Linked DNA regions of Homo sapiens: region 2 is linked to region 1. The links are contacts of gene promoters, found by promoter capture Hi-C in blood cells and fetal thymus (Javierre and others, 2016). All regions are on one chromosome and are shown on one strand. Each heading gives the region's core, a stretch centred on a gene start or on the middle of the fragment in contact. The rest is flanking DNA. Distances are from core to core; before and after follow the strand shown. Region 1 holds the start of IQUB (IQ motif and ubiquitin domain containing). Region 2 has its middle 12 kb from the start of ING3.

Region 1 (6,092 bases), core at 3,546-6,045:
GGGACTTAGTGCAGACGATTCCAATTTCTTGGCATTCTTTCCTTTGGGATGAAAATGGCTTATATTTAGGATAACTATAGGATAATTTATCATTCCACTTGGAATGATTTTGAGTGAAAATAATTACATAAGGATAACAGATGTACACCATGACTGTCCTGGGCAAACAAGATATAGGGGGGCACCCTACTGGAGTAAGGCTCAGGTCTCAAGGTTGCCATCTTTCCCACACCAGTAGGATCAACTAGTCTGTCATTGGAATAGAATGAATTGATGCCAGCAGTAGTAGTCATCATGTGCAATCAGGCCTCAAGTTTTATTGTATCCTTTCACTCTCCCTCATTCTCCCCTCCCCCTCCTTTTCCCTCAGAATTGGGGGATGGAAGAAAAGAGAGCTTATATTTTATTGTCAATTTTCTAATCACATTCAGAGGAGCGAAGCTAATTAAGCCAATAACAATGTTTATGAATGTATCTTTTTTAAAAGGGAGATGACAATATATAGGAAAATTCCCACATGTAGGCTAATAGCAGCTTTTTCTTTTTCCTCCCATCCTCTATGATTATGTAAACATACAGAAGTCTAACACCCTACACAAGTGTATTGTGGGGTATGGGATTAAGTACCAAATTGCTGAACATATCACTAGTATTTTGGATTTGCTGAGTGCAGTCTTCCCATTAAAACTAAGTGTTCAGTAGGGAGGCGTGGTGGCTCACACCTATAATCCCACTACTTTGGGAGGCCGAGGTGGGTGGATCACTTGAGGTCAAAAGTTCGAGGCCAGCCTGGCCAATATGGTGAAACCCCGTCTCTACTAAAAACAAAAACAAAAACTAAGTGTTCAGTGAGATTGTAGCCTATGCTACAACAATAGTAATGCCAATTGTTTTAGAGAAAAGTAAATGAGAGGCTACCAGTTGTGTTTAGAGGAGGTCGACGTTTTATTTTAGACAAAATTCACAGGAAATCACAGTGGGAATGTGATAAGGGGTTTGAATGATTGATGGGGACAGGAAGAATTCATTTGAGAGACTAGAGATGAGTCAGTATTCTAGATCGTGAAGTAAAATAGTGAGTCATGTAGTGACTTAGCATGGGTTATCCTTAAATCCCAGTGTCTTAAGTGTATTTTTTATTCATACTGCATGTCTAAGGAGGGTTGGCAAGGAGTGCTCATAGACCCACAAGGAATCCAGGCTGAGTGTGGCACCATCAACATATATTTCCATGACCATAGTGGTGGTGGGGAATTGGAACATGGTAAATTACACATAGGAATAAAAAAAAAGAAACAACCAAGGTTAAATTTTTTTTTGACTGTGCCACAAAATTTATGAATTGAACTTGCCATGCATCACTAATAATTTTCAAATTGGTCTTTAGGTTTACATTAGCAGCTAATTTTTTGTGGTACACTTAAATGTAATTTATGATTGGCATCTGTATATAATTAAATGAAAAGCATTGCAAAGATTTCTATTTTGGTATTTCTCATGATCTTCAATTTTTTTTTAGGTGAATCTATTAGGTTTTCTAAAGATAACTATTTTTTTTTTTTTACAAAATATTGGCATTTTAATCTCTCTATAACTGGAGGGTGAATTATTTTTCACCAGAGTAAAACAGGTCCAAAGTCCCTTATCTAAATTCCTAATTTCAAAAATCTCTGAAAACAAAGTTTTTTCATAACTCATTTGGCAACAAACCCCACCTGAATTACATGAGGCTATTTGTGGTATTTATCGCACTTCAATGTGAATATGAATATATTTTGCCACAGATGTATCAATATATTTGATTCTAAACTGCTTCCTCAGACCCTCTTAATGTGTTACATAATGTAAAGTATATGCCCATATTTCCTTTCAAAAATCTGAAAAATTGTGAATATCAAACACATCTGTCTTAAAAGGTTTCAGAAAAGGGACAATAGACCTATATTTCCATTCTCTTAACAAGTTCACAAAGTGGTATTATGATCCAAATTTAATCTAAATAATTTCCAAAACAAAAATTTTCAGGTCCTTAGTTTTCTAAATTATTTTAATATTAAAAATATTCATTATTCATTTTAACCTGTAGTAACAACAGGAGATACTTTGAAATGCTTGATTTTATCAAGCCACTAGGTGGCATCTTTGTAAAAATAAAAGCACATCAAAAGAAATGTTTATTACATAAATAAATGCTGAGATGAATAAAGGTAGATGTTTCATGAGAAATACGAAGTCGTTTGGTGGAATAAATCCTGAGAAAATGCATAGATTTATCATGAAAAGGAAAATGGAAAATGGTATTGTAAAATTACTCTTTCACTTTTGGAATTGAGAAGCTTTTTCCTATTGGTTGTTTTCATTAAGTTTGAATATAAATTTATTATGTAACCAAACTACATTTGTGTGTATGTGCGTGTATGTGTGCGTGGACAGGATTTTGACATGCTAATAACTTTTCCATGCTCCACAGACTACCCAAGGAAGCCTAACTAAGTTAGGTTCCTATTTAAGATTAAATTGTATAAAGTCATCCTCACAGCAAACTACAAAAAAAAATGAATAGTGGCTATCAAGTCACATTTAACACTGTGAGACACTTAAGTTCTCTCCTACCAGTTTTTCTTCCCCCATCTCCTGACTCTATTCCTAAACCTACTGTTTGCATACCGTCTCTAACATTGAGAACAGTGAATGACAAATTTTAAAGAGGAGACCCAGCAAAGTGAATGTTTAAAACCAGTGGAATGTTTATTAGTAGCAGAATGTAAGATAAATTATGATTTTGGAGATGGGAGTGTATGAGTGTTTGTAAAATCTTATCTGCACACCTCCACACCTGGTCTACCCATCCAAGAAAGCCTAATTCTAGTGGTTACCTCTATGCCCATTTTTCCCCTTTACTTTTCATGAATGTGTGGAAATGATTAAAATGAATTTACTTTTACTGATCATTATTAAAACAAAGCCAATTTTATCTGAATATATATTTCACTATTCTAGTAAAAATATATTTTAAAATGGGATGACTGAAAAAAATGGCATTGGATATTACAAAGTTATTGGGGAGATGAGAGTGCAATTTCAGCAGAACAGTATAAAGAAATAAATGAAGACAATGAACATTTATGAATAAGGGAATGGACCTGTATTAATTTTATTAATCCTTTTAACATATCAAATCAAATTAAACAGTACTGTAATGGTTAAAAAATCTGGGACCTGGAGTTAGATTGCTTAGGTTTAATCCTGGTTCCCTCATTAAACTTTGTGTGCCTTAGTTTTCTCATTTACAAAATGGGTCTAATAGCAGTTTCTCCCTAATAAAATCGTTGTAAGGATTAAATTAGAAATCTATGTACGGTGCCTCATGACAATGAATACTTCATAAATGTTAGCTGCTATTATGAGATAGCAACATGTAGTTTGTTACTAAATTTCCAAGAGGAACATACTTGACTTGACCTCCAATACTATCCTGTGGTTCTTTAAAAGTTTTCTTATTCATTGATAGGCCGGGCGCGGTGGCTCACTCCTGTAATCCCCAACACTTTTGAAGGCGGATTGCTTGAGGCTAGGAGTTCCAGATCAGCCTGGCCAACATGGTGAAACCCCATCTCTACTAAAAATACCAAAATTAGCCGGGGGTGGTGGCGGGCGCCTGTAATCTCAGCTACTCAGGAGGCTGAGGCAGGAGAATCGCGGGAGCCAGGGAGGTAGAGGTTGCATTGAGCCGAGATCGAACCACTGCACTTCAACCTGGGCGACAGAGCAAGACTCTGTATACACTAGAAAAAAAAAAAAAAAAAAGAATTTGTTGTTAGACAAAATTTAGTTTATTAACTAATTTAGTGATTAACAAAAGTTCTTCTAAGCAGAATTATTTGATAGCTACTATCTCCCTTTTCTCTTTGGCTGCCAGGAAGCTGAGAGCCAAGTTGTTAGTTTAACAAAAGCAAGTAGGCACCTGACAGTTTCTCGCCTCTGACTTCATCGTGATGATTTCTCTGACTCGGATTTTTTTTATATCTGTAAAATTAAACTGCTGTCAGTGTTTGGTTTAGAGAGCTGTGCCGTTTCACAAGTGTAAAAGATCTTGGAGAGAAGTTAGTGTCCTGATTCACTTGGATCTAGGTAGCCAGTTGGTAACAGCCTCCGCCTCTGGCTCCTCCCCTTCTCCCTGCCGCGTCCCTCCTCCCCGCCCCTTCGCCTCTGGCCCCGCCCCTTCTCCCTGCCGCTTCCCTCCTCCACGCCCGCTCGCCTCTGACTCCTCCCCTTCTCCCTGACGCGTCCCTCTTCCTGTCTCTTCGCCTCTGGCTCCTCCCCTTTCTCCTGCCATGTTTCTTCTCCCCGCCCCCTCGCCTCTGGCTCCTCCCCCTTTTCCCTATCGCGTTCCTCCTTTGCAGCCCCCATCCCCCTCCTCTGGCTCCTCTTCTTCCCTACCGCGATCCTCCTTCCAGACCCCGGCCCCCAGCCCGCCTCTAGCTCCTTCCCTTATTTCCTGCCGCGCTCCTCCTTCCCGACACCGCCCCTCCGCCTCTGGCTACTCCTCTTCTCTCCTGCCGCACTCCTCCTTCCCGGCCCCACCTCCCCGCCTCTGGCTCATCCCCTTCTCTTCTGCCGCCCTCCTCCTTCCCGGCCCCGCCCCCAGTCTTTGGCTCCTCCCCCTACCCTGCCGCGCTCCTCCTTCCCGGCCCCTCCCCGCTGCCCTCTTCTGGCTCCTCCCCCCCACCCGCCTCTGGCTCCTCTCCTTCCCACCCCTGCCGTGCTCCGGCAGGAAGAGGTGGTGCCAGGGCCGTTGCTAGGATACGACCAACAGCTGAGAACGCGGCGAGTATGGAAGCTGCGTCTTAGGAGCCTGGGAAAGCACTTCGACGAGAATAGTTTGGTTTCGTACACAGGTAGGAGAACAGATTTTGACTGCGGCCTCCTGGTCCGACGCTTAGATCCAGCCTAGAGCCGGTGACAGCCGCGCTGGACTCTGGGTTCTGTGTGCTGGGCAGTGATTCCCACCTGAGCGCCTGGGGCTGCCTAGTCGGTCAGGAATGTTCCGACTTTACTTTAAAAACCGTGCGAAGCATCTCATCTTTCTCGGCTCCTTTTTTGGCTTCCCCTCTCTGATTTGGGACTTGAACCAGCAGCATCAAGCTAGGAGGTACACCTCACCTCACACCCTGGGTGCTTGTCACGGTAATTGCATAGAAGATGTGTGTATAACCCACACCTGGCACTAGAGACTCTTAGCCTTCCGTGGCCACCATTCTCATATTAAGTCGAGAGATTTTAGACTTTCCTCACCTGGCACTCTCACTCCTTCCTCTCCACCCTTGGTCTTTGCCTCTTAACAAACCTAAAAATTCAACAGATCTATTTGGTAGAAGGCAATACTGGATCCCTGCCTCACTAATTATACTACATTCTAAATGTGTTAAGCTTTAAATGGTAGGGAATGAAATGTAGGTGAAAAGGGAGACTTTTTTGTATGCAAACATGATAGAGGTTGCTTTTTAAACAATAAGATTTAAACATTTTCATTTGAATAGATAATACATAAAAAAATAGTTCGAATAGTAAAAAGAATGAAGAGTGAAAATCCTCCATCTACCCATTTCTCCCCATCTCCAGGCCACCTTCCACAGGTGTTTTAGACATACGCAAATATGTAGTTACACCTGTAACATTGTGCATACTCTTCTGTGATTGGCTTTTACACTTAAGACTGTGTGTCCAGTTGTTTTCTATCAATATTTACAGATCTGTCTCATTTATGCATTTATGGATGAATTTATGTATTTATGTTTCATTGTGAGAAGGTGTTTCGAAGCATGTCAGGAAATTTGGAAACTCTCATAAGCAAAAAGATTGATAAATGTCACTACCTAACAATCTAAAACTTTTATATAGTAAGAGAAAAACAACATCAAACATACAATGGGAAATATAAGGGCAACACACAACAAAGGGATATTTAATTATTAGGACTCATAAAACAATATGAGGATGTAAGGAAACAGTCAAGGGGAACTTCTTGGGGCTATAATAGAAAACAGTTTGATGGAATTTAACAAAATTAAGATCTGTATGCCCTTTGACTT
Region 2 (6,006 bases), core at 2,819-5,318, 2.6 Mb after region 1:
TCTCAACCAGGAGTGATTTTGCCCTTCAGTGGATATTTGGCAATGTCTGGAGACATTTTAGTTGTCATAACTTGGGGAAGTACTACTGGCATCTTGTAAGTAGAGGCCAGAGATGCTGCCAAAATGTCTTACAATACACAGTACAGCCACCTGCAACAAATAATTATCAGGACCCAGAATGTCAATAATAATGAGATTAAGAAACTCTGCTGCAGATTGATATTATAGCTGAAGAATACTCAACATTCTTGGGTTAGTGTTCCGTGCCTATCAGTCACATTGTCATTTCCTTAATCAATGTTGGTTTGAGAAAATTGTACAGTAGAGGGCAGTGATAAACAAATTTTTGTGTTATATTATCATTTGTCCTCCATAGATTTTTTTTCCCTTTTTCTACTTCTCCAATTTCTAAAACAAAAATAATAGTAGATGCAAAACAATAAAACAAAATAATTTTGTATGTTTTAGGAAAAAACACATTTTATGCAAAGATGTATTAAAGATTTTAAAATACAAGTTCCACAGATACAGGAACCATGACTTTTTTACCTTCTTAAGGTATATCCTGAGTACTGATATCTCCGATGTTTTACTGTTTTTTTTGAAAGAAAAAAAACCAATTGTATATAAATATTGAGAAAGTAAAATATATCACCTAATACTAATGTATAGTTGATCATAGTTTTATTAGTAGCCTGTTCTAGTATTTTATTATCTTTATTTTTGTACTGCTGAGCCCAATACTCTTTACTATAATCATATGTTCTTTTGTAGTTGATTTTGTGAAAGTCAGAGGCATTTATTCTCCTTATATTAGTACTCTGTGTGCTTAAAGAACTTTTAAAGTGCATACTTAGTCTTTTTTCCAACTTATAAACTCATCAGAAAAAACAAAAAGTCAAAGGTAGTTTGATAGGCCATTTTAAAAAATTCAGTACTATTACCCTTACTCTTGGTTTATAAAAATATTATATTTATAGTAACAAATATCATGGTAAAAGACCAGTAATCTGAAATACTTATATTCTAAGTGGTCATTTAATTGTCCCCCCAATTTTATTATAAAATTAAGAATTGACAGATGATAGATATTTTTTCAGAGTAGTACATGAATGTAGTAACAAAGTAATAGTGTAAAAGAGCTTGTGGTAAAATGCAGCAGACTCCTGCCCTATTCGTCCTCATCTCCCTTCCGTTCCCTGGAGGTAATTACTATTTCTGTTTTACATTCTTCTGACAGTTGCCTTCAGAAGTCAAAATTATATGTTTATAACGTTCTTAATTTGTTAATTGTAGATGAGATACATTGCTTCTTCTATGATTTGTTATTTTATTGGTTACAATTTTAATGTTAATTATGTATGTATAATCCTACTACTAACTCTAACACAACACTAACTCCATGATTTTGAGACAGGCTCTCTTGACTCCTCCTCAGAAGATAAAGTTATTAGAGCGCCTAACTTTTGTCCTATCTTTATCTCCTCCCATTCAATTTTCTACCTCCTTTAACTATCCTTTTACATTGTCATGTTTGCTAATATGTTCTGCTCTGTAACAAGATTACCCTGGAGTCTTTATTGGGATGTCTATAGGATAACTCTAAAAGGTTAGAAATAAGTAACATTTATATCACTATGACTATATAATTTTTTTAATACTAAGGCAAAGAACCATTTCTTCTGGGGGTTTAATATTACAACTGTGGGGCAATTGAAGAAAAATGTTTTCAACACCGTTTTATGACACTCCATCACATGCTCAAAATCATGCCACTTTTTACTTTGTTTTATATTGGGACCATTAATTATTACTCATTTTCCCTCTGTTTTTGTAGTTTGTAATTTCTCTGTTTTTCTTTTGTTACATCCTCAGCTACCTTGTAATTCTCAATCATGCCATCTACTCCATTGTCTCCAAGAAAAAAAAATAAGTAATTGGTGTTGAATTTTGTCAGATGCTTTATCTAAATTTCATATATCGCATATGATTTTTCTCCTTTATTCGGATTAGGTGGTAAATTTTATTGATTGATTTTTGATGACTAAACCAATTTTGCGTTTCTGGGGGTAAACCCCACTTGGTTATACTATAGCAATACTTTTTATATACTAATGGATTTGAATTGCCAATATTTTGAGAATTTTTTGTGTCTGTGCTCATGAGGATTATTGATTATTGGCTGGTAGTTTTCTTTTCTAGTCTTTGCCTTCTCTGATTTAGGTATCAGTTATGTTGTCCTCAAGTGTGAAGGCTGTGAAGAATTAAAGATCAGGTGTTTGCTTTTAACATTGTGCTGGATAAGTTAAAAAATAACGGTGGAAAACTAAACTATTTTCTCAATGCATTCCCCAAATTTTTGTCTGACTGTGACAAAAAAAAATAATAATGTGTTGCAACCAGTAAACTTCAAACTAGATCCTATCGGTTGTAGGATTGTAGCATCAGAAAAATTCACAGCCCTACCATATCTCTTGTGTGAACACAATGCTTTTTTTTTCCATGAAAGTTTAGGACATGAAGAACAGAAATGTGGTCCTGTGAGAGGTTTTGGACAACTCAGAGACCCCAAATCTTCAAATATTTCTGAGCTTACACTGCCATAAAAATAAAAACACCTCTTTTTTTTTTTTTTTTTTTTTTTTTTTTAGAGAAGGCCAAATACAAAGTCAAACTTAAGATGAAAAGGTTAATGCACCCACATATGCAAGATTTTCTAACTTATATCAGCAAATAATAGGGAGAATGGAATTGTAAATGCATTGTGAAGATGCTCAACTAAGACAAGAGAAACAAGTTTAGGTTGGGCTGAATTTTTCCACGTGGGGGCATATGCCAGTGAATCTGGTTCTTGTAGGCTTAAGCAGTTGGAAGCAGTTCTGTTTGACTAGTTGACTAAATAAGTATTTAACGGTGGCCTGTATTTAATGGATTGAGGTGCCAAAAATTCCTTGGAGAGATGAACCCAAGACTTAGGGAGATAGGAAGCTTGGAATGAATTTATAAAATACTCTTCTTTCACCCTCCTCCTAATCACATCTGCTGAGTATGTCTGAAGACTTTCCCTTTATCAAGACACTGGGAAATGTATTTTGAGCACATCAGTAACTTTAAAAAATGTTCTAGGGGAACAACATTCTTTGTAGGCTAAGGAAGCTGGTAGAAGATGCTGCAGTTGGTATGAACTCTTTGATTGCAGCAGGGATGCTAGGATCCAAGATAGCATGGGCCAAATAGCCACATTTAACTACCGGGGCGAAGTGGGCTTAGTCCTCTTAATATCTCCATGGCCTGAGTGGTAATCTGAATGATCTGACCTTCAGTAATGTTCAGGGATTGATGGCTGAATGTTAATCAGGTTCATATAAATTAGTAGATGGACAACACACTAAGGCTGTCTTTATTCTCTCTAACCAAAAACTCGAGGTCTGGGGAGAACAGGATCTTAATTGGAACCACCATATTAGAATCTGAGACCTGAATTAGTTTATACATCTAGATTCCCTTTAATGATGGGGAGATTGATGCACTTGAAAAGGGACCTTGCATCATTGTAAGGCCATGCCATTAATTTTTTTTTCTAGCCTTCTCCAAAGACACAATTTACACTTAGGTGAAATATACCTACCTTTTCTGAGACTATTGGATACTGCTCTTAACTAATTGTTGCTTCCTGAGTACAAAGAATTCTACAGTTCACAGATGAATGTAGGTAGTTCTAGGATTCATGTGAGTAATGTAGTTTTCAAGGAACTCTGCCTCATAGTACACCTACTACTCCTCTGAACTCAGTCTTTGATAATTCATCAGTTCCTTAATGTAATGTTGAAATAGCTATTCACATACTGCGCAATTGGGAGAATCTCTGCTTTGAAACAATACTAGGAAAGGGCCAGTGGAAATTACTTTATCCTTCGAGCACTATCCAATTCTCAAGTGATAACACATTTCAGGAATACCAGAGAGATCAGTGCCACCATTAAACCTTGAAGACATCTGTCTAGTCCACACTGGACAAATCTACCATAATCTGTCTGTATGATTGTAGCAGTGTGCTACCTGGCCTTCCTGCCTCCCTCTTCCCCTTCCTCTTTACTATCCATTCTCTACATGAGTAGCACATAGTTATCCTCCTAAAAGGTATGTCAAATGACCTTTCTCCTCTCCTCACAACCCTCCAATGGTTTACCGTTTAAGTCACAGCAAAAGCCACGGTCCTTACAATGGCCCACAAGGCCCCAAATGACCTGACTTCCTGTCATCTCTCTGTTGTCATTTTCTTCTACTCCACCTCATTCACTGCACTATAGCCATGACAACCTCCTGACTCTTCCTTGAACACACCAGGCAGGTGTCTACCTAAGGACCTTTCTGTCAGCTGTTTCCTCCAGATATGTCTGCATGACTTGCTTCCTCCACTACAACTCTGTTGATATCAGTCAAATTACGTCCTTCTAAGTAAGATTTTCTCTAGCAACCCTATTTAAAATTTCAACATCCCCCCAATTCCTTGCCCAACCAAGTACTCCTGCTCTTTTCTTTATTACAGTCACTTAATGATGAGGAGACGTACTGAGAAATGAATTGTTAGGCGATTTTGTCATTGTGTGAACATCAGAATGTACTTATGCAAACATAGTTGATATAGCCTACTACACACTCAGGCTGTTCAGTATGTAGCCTATTGCTTCTATAGCATGTTACTGAACTGCATACTATAGGAAATTGTAATACAAATAACTAAGCAATAGGAATTTTTAGCTCCATTGTAACTATGAGACCACCATCGCATATGTGGTCTGTCATTGACCAAAATGCCATTATGTGGTCCATGATTTTATATATATATATATAATTTATTTGTAAGATAATAAGATTATATATGGTAAACATATTCATATATTTTATGTATAGAAAAATATACATATAAGATACAGATCTTATTTATATATAGCTATATCTTATACAACATATAAGATTAGACATATATCTTATTGATTTGTATTTTTGTCTTTTGCTCACTAGAATGTGAACTCCATGAGGACAGGGATTTTTATTTTATTAACTGTTGTACATAATTACTGAGAAGTGTATCTGGCATATATTAATAGCTCCATAATTATTTATTATGGAATAACGAGAAGCTTAGTGGTTCTGATATTTGTTCCATTGCCATTGAGCATAAGACATCTTTGCAAGAATGAAAGCAGACTTTCAAAGTTAAATTGTATGGTGATGCAAATTGCTACTATTGTTTCAGATGTGGTCTATTTATAGGAGCAAGTCAGCCCATACTCTGGGACCTGGTATGCAACTATTTATCTATGAAATGTTATTTTTTTTCTATATCCCAATAAGCCAGAACAGTGAAAAAAGGTGTCTTTCATCTAGAAGGGACAGCAGTGCACCTTTACTATCTTGCTTCCGCTCCATGCCATAGTTTAATCCCTCAGGACCTTGATCATTTCAGCGTTTTACTGGACATTACGCTGGCTCACTATATGGTAAAATAATGCTTCCAGGAGTGGATATAAAGAAGTTACAGATGTGAGTCTTTGTATATCAGACAACTTTGGTGAATTCTATCAGAGTTTCTGGCATCTGTTTATTTTTCCAAACTGCCTGAGATTTAACTGACATCACTTAGGCACAATCAGAGGGATGCCTTGTACCCTTGTCACACAGTGGGCTTCTTCCACTTTGTATCATGCAGTTCTGACCTCCAGCCTGTGCTTCATGTCTCCTACCTCCTGCTTCTGCTACATGATCACATCTATGCATGCACACCCTGCAGAAAAGTTAACACACTGTAGGGAAAATCTTTGACCACTGGAGAGTGGCAACCAATGAGTTTCTCCACCTCCCAGCCTACCCAGTGATTATCCAGAAATGTGCTCTAGATATACACTTCTTGAGGACAAGCAGTAGTACTAAAGAGTGGCCAGGTCAAAACGTCATCCTCTTATATTATCTGTGCCTTCTTCCCTCACACCCTTTTATTTTTTC

Evidence for each region. Contacts are between HindIII fragments. The CHiCAGO score rates a contact against its expected background, and 5 or more counts as called.
Region 2: a fragment that was not itself captured here is called in contact with the fragment with the promoter of IQUB in region 1 in 1 of 17 cell types (total CD4 T cells); the score reaches 6.0 in total CD4 T cells.

What each region holds. Positions count from the first base shown.
Region 1 is chr7:123,533,298-123,539,389 of GRCh38, reverse strand. It overlaps IQUB (IQ motif and ubiquitin domain containing), which reads left to right and starts at 4,795. Exons shown (of 13, transcript NM_178827.5): 1 at 4,795-4,898. It overlaps LOC124901740 (a long non-coding RNA gene), which reads right to left and starts at 4,859. Exons shown (of 2, transcript XR_007060507.1): 1 at 3,965-4,859; 2 at 3,131-3,785. It overlaps NDUFA5 (NADH:ubiquinone oxidoreductase subunit A5), which reads left to right. Exons shown (of 5, transcript NM_005000.5): 5 at 1-2,393. RefSeq lists an enhancer at 3,909-4,048 and silencers at 4,119-4,248, 4,329-4,478, 4,499-4,728. The HindIII fragment of the contact is 3,094 bases long and covers 2,339-5,432 here.
Region 2 is chr7:120,935,584-120,941,589 of GRCh38, reverse strand. No RefSeq gene overlaps it. Among named protein-coding and RNA genes, the nearest start is that of ING3, 12 kb to the left of the region's middle. The HindIII fragment of the contact is 2,156 bases long and covers 2,991-5,146 here.